Regions from separate parts of the Homo sapiens genome. Here all the other regions are linked to region 1. The links are contacts of gene promoters, found by promoter capture Hi-C in blood cells and fetal thymus (Javierre and others, 2016). All regions are on one chromosome and are shown on one strand. The core of a region is centred on a gene start or on the middle of the fragment in contact, and the rest is flanking DNA. Distances in the headings are between cores, read along the strand shown. Region 1 holds the start of TGFB3 (transforming growth factor beta 3). Region 2 overlaps TTLL5 (tubulin tyrosine ligase like 5). Region 3 overlaps TTLL5 (tubulin tyrosine ligase like 5).

The links. Contacts are between HindIII fragments. The CHiCAGO score rates a contact against its expected background, and 5 or more counts as called.
Region 2: a contact is called between a fragment that was not itself captured here and the fragment with the promoter of TGFB3 in region 1, in 2 of 17 cell types (endothelial precursors and M1 macrophages). The highest score is 5.6, in endothelial precursors.
Region 3: a contact is called between a fragment that was not itself captured here and the fragment with the promoter of TGFB3 in region 1, in 2 of 17 cell types (M1 macrophages and M0 macrophages). The highest score is 5.6, in M1 macrophages.

What each region holds. Positions count from the first base shown.
Region 1 is chr14:75,980,745-75,983,784 of GRCh38, reverse strand. TGFB3 (transforming growth factor beta 3) reads left to right here and starts at 1,790. Exons shown (of 7, transcript NM_003239.5): 1 at 1,790-3,040. The coding sequence starts at 2,892. RefSeq lists silencers at 996-1,115, 1,246-1,485 and an enhancer at 1,156-1,215. The HindIII fragment of the contact is 14,571 bases long and covers 1-3,040 here.
Region 2 is chr14:75,766,185-75,770,486 of GRCh38, reverse strand. TTLL5 (tubulin tyrosine ligase like 5) reads right to left here. Exons shown (of 32, transcript NM_015072.5): 20 at 4,119-4,302. Among named protein-coding and RNA genes, the nearest start is that of TTLL5, 110 kb to the right of the region's middle. The HindIII fragment of the contact is 2,123 bases long and covers 689-2,811 here.
Region 3 is chr14:75,737,519-75,741,775 of GRCh38, reverse strand. All of the region lies in intron 15 of TTLL5 (tubulin tyrosine ligase like 5), which reads right to left. Among named protein-coding and RNA genes, the nearest start is that of TTLL5, 78 kb to the right of the region's middle. The HindIII fragment of the contact is 1,041 bases long and covers 2,330-3,370 here.

The sequences.
Region 1 (3,040 bases), core at 541-3,040:
CATTTTTTTGTAGAGACTGGGTTTCGCCGTGTTGCTGGGGCTGGTCTCGAATTCCTGAGCTCAAGTAATCCTCCTGCATGGGCCTCCCCAAATGCTGGGATTACAGGCGTGAGCCACTGCACCTGGCTCAGCACTTTTTACCGTACTACATCATTTACATATTTATTTAGTTTATCGCCTCCTCCACTGCCCCACCCCTGCCTCTAAAATAAAATTTCCCTGAGGGCAGGAGTTTTGTTTCGTTCACTGATATTCTTCACAGAGCCTAGAATAGTGCCTGGTATATAGTAAACATTAAACTTTTTCTGAAATTTCAGAGGCAGTATAGCATAGTAATTAAGTCCAGAATCTGGCAACGTCCTGGGTCCAAATCCCAACAGCTGACACCTAATAACTATGTGACCTTGGGCAAGTTACTTTTAAAGTTTCTACCCCTAGGTTTCCCATTGGTTTTGCAAATGAAAGTAATGCCTACCCAAGCTAGATAGCCTGTGTAAAATATCGCCTCCATCACTCACAAGCAGTGTGGTCTGTAAAAAAAAAAACAAAAAACTCTATGCCTCAGTTTCCTCATCCGTAAAGTGACCCACCGCTGTGCTGGGATACAGAGAACAGCCCCTTCAGTTAGTGGCCTGGAAGCCAGACCTCTCAGAAAGGGTCCAGGAAGGCTGGAGTGAGATGGGGTGGGAGCGGCACTCACTCTCAGGAAAGTTCAGTTCAGAGGCAAGCCCTGTGTTGCGGGGTGCGGGGAGCCACGTGCCCTACCCTCCCTTGGCTGCTCGTGGGAAAAGGCCTAGAGGTTCGGGCCGAGAAGAGGAGCGAAAGCACAGAGCCGACTTCCCCTCACCCATCTGGGAAATGGGCTCGGGCCAACTGCTGACTTCGCGCTCGCTGGCGCAGCTCCCTGCGGAGACCTCGGCGGGGAGGGAGGCTGAACATCTGGATGACATTTCTGCGAGAGCGGCTCCGGAGCGGCGGTCGGGGAGGGAGAGGTGCGCTCGTGCGCACGTCGGGCCGGGAGGGAGGCGATTCCTCGGGGCCTGGGTCTTGTTTTTCTCGCTCTCTACCGCAGCCCCTTCTCCCGCCCCTCAGCCCCCACCCCGCAGCCCCCAGCCCCCGAGCCTCCCCGGCTCCCGACCAGCCGAGCTCCTTCACTGGCGGCCTCGCCTCGCCAGAGGGCACCCTCGATCTTCCGGAAAACGCCACCATTTTTCACTGCCCCTGGAGCGTCTCCAGGCTTCTGCCCGCCTCCCGACTCCGATCTTGTCAATGAAGAATCGGGCCAGGATCGCCGCGGAGCGGACGCCGACCCTCCGACCCGGCTCGCAGGCTGGGAGTCCCCTCTGCGAGGCTGGCATGGCCGCCCCTACCGGGTCCCGCGCCCTCTGCGGACCCTGCCCCGGGTTGGGCCTGGCCCGCGGGCGGCCCCGGGACCGGGGGACCAGGAGGGAGAGTAGACGCGGGCCGCGGACGGCGCGGACTGACAGCTGGCGAGAGGGCGCCGGGGCTGGGGGAAAGGGAGGGAGGGGGCTCATCGGAGTAACTTTCCAGAAAAACAGCCAACGTGTGGCAGGAGTGATTCCAAGAGGGGAAAAAAAGTTCAGCTACCACGTCGAACGAGAGGACTCGCAAAGTATTTTTCAAAAGGGCTCGGCTTTTCCTGTGCCTGTTTAAAACATTAACATCGTGCAGCAAAAGAGGCTGCGTGCGCTGGTCCCTCCCTCCCCCACCCCAGGCCAGAGACGTCATGGGAGGGAGGTATAAAATTTCAGCAGAGAGAAATAGAGAAAGCAGTGTGTGTGCATGTGTGTGTGTGTGAGAGAGAGAGGGAGAGGAGCGAGAGGGAGAGGGAGAGGGAGAGAGAGAAAGGGAGGGAAGCAGAGAGTCAAGTCCAAGGGAATGAGCGAGAGAGGCAGAGACAGGGGAAGAGGCGTGCGAGAGAAGGAATAACAGCTTTCCGGAGCAGGCGTGCCGTGAACTGGCTTCTATTTTATTTTATTTTTTTCTCCTTTTTATTTTTTAAAGAGAAGCAGGGGACAGAAGCAATGGCCGAGGCAGAAGACAAGCCGAGGTGCTGGTGACCCTGGGCGTCTGAGTGGATGATTGGGGCTGCTGCGCTCAGAGGCCTGCCTCCCTGCCTTCCAATGCATATAACCCCACACCCCAGCCAATGAAGACGAGAGGCAGCGTGAACAAAGTCATTTAGAAAGCCCCCGAGGAAGTGTAAACAAAAGAGAAAGCATGAATGGAGTGCCTGAGAGACAAGTGTGTCCTGTACTGCCCCCACCTTTAGCTGGGCCAGCAACTGCCCGGCCCTGCTTCTCCCCACCTACTCACTGGTGATCTTTTTTTTTTTACTTTTTTTTCCCTTTTCTTTTCCATTCTCTTTTCTTATTTTCTTTCAAGGCAAGGCAAGGATTTTGATTTTGGGACCCAGCCATGGTCCTTCTGCTTCTTCTTTAAAATACCCACTTTCTCCCCATCGCCAAGCGGCGTTTGGCAATATCAGATATCCACTCTATTTATTTTTACCTAAGGAAAAACTCCAGCTCCCTTCCCACTCCCAGCTGCCTTGCCACCCCTCCCAGCCCTCTGCTTGCCCTCCACCTGGCCTGCTGGGAGTCAGAGCCCAGCAAAACCTGTTTAGACACATGGACAAGAATCCCAGCGCTACAAGGCACACAGTCCGCTTCTTCGTCCTCAGGGTTGCCAGCGCTTCCTGGAAGTCCTGAAGCTCTCGCAGTGCAGTGAGTTCATGCACCTTCTTGCCAAGCCTCAGTCTTTGGGATCTGGGGAGGCCGCCTGGTTTTCCTCCCTCCTTCTGCACGTCTGCTGGGGTCTCTTCCTCTCCAGGCCTTGCCGTCCCCCTGGCCTCTCTTCCCAGCTCACACATGAAGATGCACTTGCAAAGGGCTCTGGTGGTCCTGGCCCTGCTGAACTTTGCCACGGTCAGCCTCTCTCTGTCCACTTGCACCACCTTGGACTTCGGCCACATCAAGAAGAAGAGGGTGGAAGCCATTAGGGGACAGATCTTGAGCAA
Region 2 (4,302 bases), core at 501-3,000, 210 kb after region 1:
CACAAATGCAATCACTGAATGCTTTCTACTGACTGTTTTCACAAGGTTAGGAGGTAGGATTTGGCTAAAGTAAGCTGCACATCTTAAGAGGGCTCCAGTCTAGCTTCCATGTGTATGTTGGAGAATTGGAGGGCAAGGGAGTCAGGCTGGGGAGAAGATTTGCTTTTGAGAGTTTAATACATAAGAGCTTCAGAACATGAACTAAGAATAAGGCTACATCTTTGTTACTAGCAGGGATGGTTTTTATGGGAGCATAATATGGTTTTGAAATAATACACTTATATTTTCTTTTTTTTTTTTTTTTTTTCGAGACAGAGTTTTGCTCTTGTCACCCAGGCTGGAGTGCAGTGGTGTGATCTTGGTTCACTGCAACCTCTGCCTCCCAGGTTCAAGCGATTCTCCTGCCTCAGCCTCCCAAGTAGCTAAGATTACAGGTGCTCACTACTATGCCCAGCTAATTTTTGTATTTTAATAGAGATAGAGTTTCACCATGTTGATCAGGTTGGTCTCAAACTCCTGACCTCAGGTGATCCACCCACCTCAGCCTCCCAAAGTGCTGGGATTACAGGCATGAGCCTGCACGCCTGGCCATAAATGTACATTTTCAACTGTTCCTCAAAGACAATAATTATACTCTTGTTTACCCAGAGAGCATATATCACTTTACCCTGAATCAATCCTATAAGCTTTGTCTCCACAACAAATTATTCTCAAGTCAAAATAAATTTAAAAGATCCTCAGTTTGGGTCAATAAATTCACCTACAATATAATGAGCAAGAAATAGCATGTTTCAGACACCTTCAAATGTAGCAGAATATCCAATTCCACGGATTCATCCCTTTATACTAAAACTTGAAGATCTTTTAAATAAGGGGATTATTGCTCATAAGTTGAGACTTCAATCATTGTTTTGTTGTGAATCACTGTTGCAAAGCAAATGAACAAATATTGAGGTTTCCATTTCCATAAACGTCACGAATGTTAATTCTGAGACTGTCTCTAAGGTATTGGACACATTGTTCAGCTAGTCACTTGCAACAAACCCCCCAAAAGATGAAAGAATAAAAACCAGAAAGAATAAAAACCAAAGAAACCTATTTTAAAAAACAAAAGGTTATGCAGATGCTCAGTATATAAGATATGCAACAATGACGCGATCCTTAGAGTTTTGAACCCTGGCTGTGCGTGGACTTTCCCCAAACCCCTAAGTAGCCTCTGAGACACTTCACCGAACAATGAGCAGCTTTAGGGAACACAGTCTGAAAACCACTGATTGACACTAACGCAGCCTGCAATTTTAACAGTTTACTCATTCAAAGCGAGAGCCACAAGATTCATGAAGAAATAATTTATTTCTACAACAACTAAGCAGAATGTTATTGCTGGAAAGGACCTTAGAATACAGTCCAGTGGTTTTCAAATGCTCTATTTTCAATTCAGTGAAATCTTCTTTCCCTCTAGGAAGAAGTTTGAAAAAACACTTGTCTAACTCCACATCTTGGATTGACAGAAAAGGAAACTGAGGCCTATAGAAGCTCTTTGACTTGTCTATGACCACACGGCCAGTTGGTAGCACTAAAACAGCCAGAGCTCAGGTCTTCTGACTGAGTTTAGCATATTCTATTCTCCACTGACAGAACTATTCTTATTCTCCATGACACTGTTCCAAACCTTAACTCTATCCCCTGCTACTCCAATGTCACCCTCCAGCCTTTCAGTATAAGAACTGGCCTCTAATTTAGAAATAAAGACTATCATGCATAAACGGCTAAACTTCCTTGCTCTTAAACTTCTGTCAACTTCATTCATCCCATAGCACTTTCTTTCTGACTGATAGGAAGAGATACTCCCTCCTCTGGCCTCTTCCCACCTTCCTTTAGTACTCTTCTCTACCAATATGTCCATTTCTGCATTTCTAATCCTCTTATCCTCAAATCCTTCCCCTTAGTCTATAAACAACCTCCAGAACCTCTTCTCAAAAGAAAAAAAAAAAATCCGTTTCTTTTAGCTGGCTGTCTCCCTGATGCATTCTTACCTTCCTTTCATTGCCAAACCCTTAGACAGTTAGTTCACACTTGCTTTCTTATTTTCTCCACTCACAACTGGTCTTCCACCTACTCAGTTGGCCCTAGGTCACAAATCCAGAAGTCTCTTTTCACTATTCATCCTAACTAGGGCTGTTTGAGGCTCTACAGACCTGAAATGCTCATTCTGCAGCTTTTACCATACTACTCCTTCCTGATCTTATGTCTATTGCTCTAACTGCTACATCTTGACCTTTTTACTGACTTACCCATTGAACAGTGGTATTCCCCAGGGCTCAATTCTTTTTTTATCCTTGCTGAACCAAATAAATTTGTGAACAATCTTATCCATTCGCAAGACTTTACCTACCAACTATACAATCCTGTTCAACCTTGATCAACAAAGCTGTCCACCTGTCTATTGGACTTTAGCCCAGAACCCTTCTTCCTTACTACATCTTAAATCAAACTCATTGTTTTTAACATGAAACCAACTCCTATGTTCCTTATATTGACCAAAGGCACCACCAAGTTTCCAAATGTGAAAAACTTAGTCTCATCAATTTTACTTTGCAAATTTTACTAAGTCCATCCCATTCTCTCCACTCCTAAAGCCATTACTCTGATCAAGGCCTTCATCTTCCTGGCTCTGGACAATTCTAACAGTCCCTAACTCACCCCCCTGCCTTTAGTTTCACTATCCCACAATGCAAGCACGATTTACTTTCTAAAACAAGATCTCACCGTATCATTTATCTGCTTAAAAGTCATCTAGAAAATAAAGCTTAGGCTCCTCTTACGGCCCTTCACAATCTAACAACATCCAATTTTTTAGTCTCATTTCTTACCATGCTCTTCTCCTTATATAATTCCTCTAGTCTGTATTTTGTAAACACACCAAGCTCATTACGATGTCTGGGCTTTTGTACTTGCTATTCTGCTGGGAGTATTCTGCCTCCTACTATTCACACGACTGACTCCTCATCATTCAGGACTTACCTCAAAGGTTACCTCTTCATGCCAGATCACTGCAATTAAGTAACTCTGCCCAATTACATTCTAACATTACACCATCTTATTGTCCTGACAGCATTTCTCACGACCTGAAATGACCTTGTTTCTTTGTTAACTGTCATTCTTCCCCACTAGACTGTAAACTCCAGGCCTATCTTGGTCCCCACAGTAATGTGATATGGCCTAGCACAACTGGCATAGGGCAGGTGCTCAATAAAAACTCACTGAGGGACTTAATGAATGACTGTATTATCACACCTCTATGTCTTTTTTTTTTTTTTTTTAAGATGGAGTTTCACTCTTGTTGCCCAGGCTGGAGTGCAATGGCACAATCTTGGCTCACTGCAAACTCCACCTTCCAGGTTCAAGCAATTCTCCTGCTTCATCCTCCCGAGTAGCTGGGCTTACAGGCATGCACCACCACACCCAGCTAATTTTGTATTTTTAGTAGAGACAGGGTTTCTCCATGTTGGTCAGGCTGGTCTCGAACTCCTGACCTTAGGTGATCCGACCACCTCGGCCTCCCAAAGTGCTGCAATTATAGGTGTGAGACACTGAGCTTGGCCACCTCTACGTCTTTATTGCCTCTACCTAGCACTCCCACATTTAACCATCACTTCCCAAAGCTCCTGAAACCCTACTCATCTGTCAAGGCCTGATTCAAATTTTCCCTCATCCATAATGCCTTTCTAGCCCTCCCAAGCCAGACCAATCACTCTTTTTCTGTGTCCTAAGACCACTTTGTTCATAGTGGGGCCATGGCCTGAGCTCTCTGTCTCTGATACTAAACGACGAGCTGCTTGAGCTCCTTGTCCCAGTTACCTTATACTCAGTGACTGACACAAATGCCCAACCAATGAGACCCGGGTTTGTATCATAGCTCTACCTTAGACAAGTTACCTAACCTCTCTAAGGCTCAGTTTCCTTAATAATAACAGTATCTAATCACAGTCATTATTTCATAGGACTTCTGTAAATATTAAATGAAAAATGACTGTAAAACCACTAAAATAGTAGCTGGTACACAGTACAAGTTAGCTGTTATCAGTTTTACTAATATAATTATAAAAGATACATACCTAAGATTGCCATTATCTTGAAGAATCTGCATCAGGTTAAATTTAGGCTCTAGCTCCTGAGTCTCAAGTTTGCAGCAGTGTCCACCTTTATTATTCCATTCACGAACTTTCATGGAATTTTCTTTGGGTGTATTTTCTACCAAAGCTGTCAATGAGGGTGTATATTTGGCTTGATTTTCTCTAA
Region 3 (4,257 bases), core at 1,601-4,100, 240 kb after region 1:
ATGTTTGGGGTCGGGTAGAGGCATGTAGGAATTCAGGTCTGTGCTTCTAGTTGGGGTATTTAAGAGCTCTGAGAAAGGTCTCTAATTCTGTGACCTGAGTTATAGACACAGGTGAAAGAAAAGGTAGAGAAAGAGAGAAGGGAAGAAGAAAGGATAAGATGGACAGAAAAAAAGAAAATAAATGCTTATGAGTGTCAAGGAGACACACTTGGAGATTAAAAACAAAGCAAAGTTAAAAAAAAAAAAAAAGGAATCAGACTGATTTGAAAGGCCACCAAGACTATCAAAAACAAGGGCAAAACAGTCCAAACGCAAGTCATTCTGCAGCTTTGCCTTTGGGCACATCAACTACATTCTCTGGGTGGTAGATATAATAAATCCACATATTCCCATGAGTTGACTGAATGCACTAAGGAAGTAAGGTCCTCTGAACTTAGAGAGGAGAACCATTGCCTCTGGCTAAAAGATACATGATTTAGATATCCAGTGCTCAGATAAATTATAAACTGTCAAATTACTGTCAAGAATTCTGCCATGCAACATGCACCAAGGATAAAGATGAATTTATCAATAGTACAACTTACGATTCAGAAATCTTCCCAGAGAAGAAACCTTACATATCTAACCATCATTGCTAAGGAACAACTGGCTGAAAGTGTGAAATTATTGAGACAAGGAACCACCAGTCTCCACTCAATCAAAGTAGTAAGAAACAGATGTTGAATCAGAAAATGACTCTCAGCCTTTAAAAAGCTGGCAAGTACCAATGATGAGAAGAACTTAACAAAATGTGGAATGGGGAAAAATGGCAAGATATCCTAAGACTATGTCATAATTGAGGGGCAAAAACAAAATTTGCTTGACAGAGAACACATGCAAAGAATAAAAATCTCCCAATGCAGTTTTACAAAGTTTGGAATTCTTCATTAAAAGCAAAGGAACTAGAAATAGCTCAATTTATATGTGATACATTTTACCATCTAAAAAACAACAGGTAAAATCAAGTTTAAAAGTAAAATGAATGCTATCAAATGAAAGAAAACAAATGGAAAAGACCACATTATCAATAAATCTGAATGGAAATGGACCAAAAAAATGGCTTCTAAGAGAAGGTTTAAACATACTGATAATCAGGGTATACTTTGAAATTGGCAGGTGGAGGGGAGAAAGCAAGTAGGCTTGTGTAACAGCATCTAGAAATTTGGAATAAATGTAAGCCAGCAGGTCTGAGAGACATGCATCCTGTTATTAAGGAAATTGGCTTTAAAAACAAACAAAACTTACCCAAACCACTTATAATTATGTTTGAAAAATCATGAAGAACTGAGGAGGTACCAGTTTAGAAAAAAACCAAATGAGGTACTAATCTTCAAAAATGTAAGAAGTATGCTCCTGGTGGTTACTGCCTGGTAAACCTAACTCGAATCCCTAGTAAAATAATGGAACAAATATTAAAAGGAAAAAATCCCTAATAACTTAGAGGATAATGGGCTTATGAAGAATAGTATGAAGAATGCTTTATTTTAAAACATGCTTTAAAAGTTTCATTTTTAGGACAAGATTTTTAAAAGGGGAACTATAGCAATATATTAAATGTCTTTGGATTTTAGAGAAGCATTTGAGAAAATTTCACAAAATTTTTATTCTAAATTATATTTCCAGTTAGGGGTTAGTGCCAGAATATAACACATCAACAAACACTGAAAACAGTGTAACTGCAAGATAAATAGCAGTGAATCAAGTTAGAAAGTGATTTCTGGAATGGGTATTAACTAAGCATTATTTAGAATCTTCATTAACATCTGGAAGGAAAAACAAAATAGCATTTGTGGATGATGGCAAATGTGAAAAACATGACTACAAACAGGTGAATATCAAAATAACAAGAGATCTTGACAATGGGAAAATCAAAAGACTCAAAAGTGTGAAGGGGAGTAAATCTTCTTAGTGTAAACTACATGTCTAGCACTTATCCTGAATATTTTACCTCCATTTTATCATTTCTTCCTCACTGTAACTTCATGTATATATTATTATCCCCATATGACAGATGTGGGAATTGAGCCTCAGAGAGGTAAGAGAACTTGCCCAAAGGTCTAATTGCTAGTTTTTGGCAGAGCTCAAATTTGAATCCAGGTCTATCGGACTGTAAAAGTCCATATTCTTTCCACAGTACCATGCCATACAATTTCTGGTGAGTGGAAAATTTGAACCATAGACATTAAAGAGAAAGGAGAAATATAGAGATAATGGTTTAAAAAGGAAAAGGCAGAAAAAGGGCAAAGGACTAAGAGAATTCACAATCTGACAGCAACAGAAAAAGAAAGCTTGACACAGTCTAACTGGTCAGAACAAAGAAATTTTTTTTTTTACTTAGCTCCAATGAAAATACTGTGAAGTTAAGAGTGCTTCGTTAACAGAAAGACAATGACAAAATAGAACATTGCAAAGTACAATAAAAGTCAAAGAATTCAACATGTATAAAGCTGGCTGAATAAAGCCAGAAAGGCTTTATGTCACGTAAGCAAGTATTCAGATACATTACTACTAAAGAGAGGTCTTGCTCTCCAACAAGCCTATTACAACCTACGGTAATTCAAGCAATGCAACTAGATGTAATGGAATTAAAATTGATAATGAGAAATTAAGATTAGAATTACATATCAAAGGCCGGGCATGGTGGCTCATGCCTGCAATCCCAGCACTTTGGGAGGGCCGAGGCAGGCAGATCGCTTGAGCTCAGGAGTTCCAGACCAACCTGGGTAACAGGTCAAAACCCTCATCTCTACCAAAAATACAAAAAATTAGCCAGGCATGGTGGTGTGCACCTGTAGTCCCAGCTAATCAGGAGGCCAAGGTGGGAGGATCACCTGAGCCCAGGAAGTCCAGGCTGTAGTGAGCTGTGATCGCGTCACTGCACTCCAGCCTGGGTGATGGAGTGACACGCTGTCTCAAATAAGTAAGTAAAAATAAATTAGAATTACCTATCAAAGACACTTCTTTACAGTCAAATGCCACAGGCTATGAAAGAGTACCCCTTTCCTAACGTACTCCTTTCAGTACATTAGTTCCAGGTATATTTAGAATATAAGCTCTTTGAAGTCAACAGCATTATTTTGTTTTGTTTTCTGCCATGGGAGCAACTAGCATACTTAGGTATTTACTAAATATAAAATACTACATATTATAGAGTTTCGAATTCCACCAACTAAGCACCAAAACTCATACTACAGAGCCACATTAATCAGTTACTAAATATTAGACAAGGCATCCAGTAAGTTATTTTTCATTTCTTGGATTCACATAAACCATATAAATCACTTTATCAGAAACAGTAGCTAAGAAAAGTTACATGTCAAGCATTCAAGCTTACCAGAAATTGCATCAGAGAGTACAAACGCCAAAATAAATATACTGGAGCTTTTTGCTAAACAACAGTTGCAGTGACACGTTTATATATGAGAATATCTATATCCCTCATACTAAAGCATCAAATAGCAGGCACAGGACCCCCACTGCTAGCCTATTACTTCAAAAAGAATTTTTTAAATCTGTGCAGAAGAAAGCAATGGTTAATCTCAAATACTGCTAACAAAAACAGTAAGAAAGCAAATGCTGATCATTCAGAAAGAAAGATGTTTGTATTTCAAAGGTAGCATCTGAGACACTATTGTGGCAGAGCTTCTAAGATTTATAAACTGCAGATCACTACATATTTGAAATGTCACCTGTTAAGGAACTCAAATACAACCCTACACCCAATGTGAAAACATTTCCAATATTAAGCTATAGACAACAGTATGTTTCATAAGATGTCTGAAAAAAAAAATTGAAGTTCATTTGTGAACTGGAAAATTTCCTTCCTGGATTATTTTGGTCAAAGTGATAGATATGCCTTCAAGCCCCTGTTCCTCATTTAAATTCAACTGTCTCCATCTCAGTATAATCACTATCAGGAAAAGAGGATCCCTAAGTTCCTGCATCCTCTACTCTTATATCCTATAACCAAAAAGACTTCTATGCATTCATTTTCATTCACTTTGTTATTAAACTGCGCAAAAAAATAGGTACATAAAAATATGTACCATGAAAAACTAAAGCTAAAAAACTTTCCATTTGGAGAATGAAAATAAAATTTGAAGAAGTCTCCAAAAGATCTAGAACTTACCTGCTTGGCCTTTGACGACTGAAACTGTGCAGATACTGGACGCTATAAAAGACAGAAAAATGGAATAAACCCTTATCTTCTCCTAATAT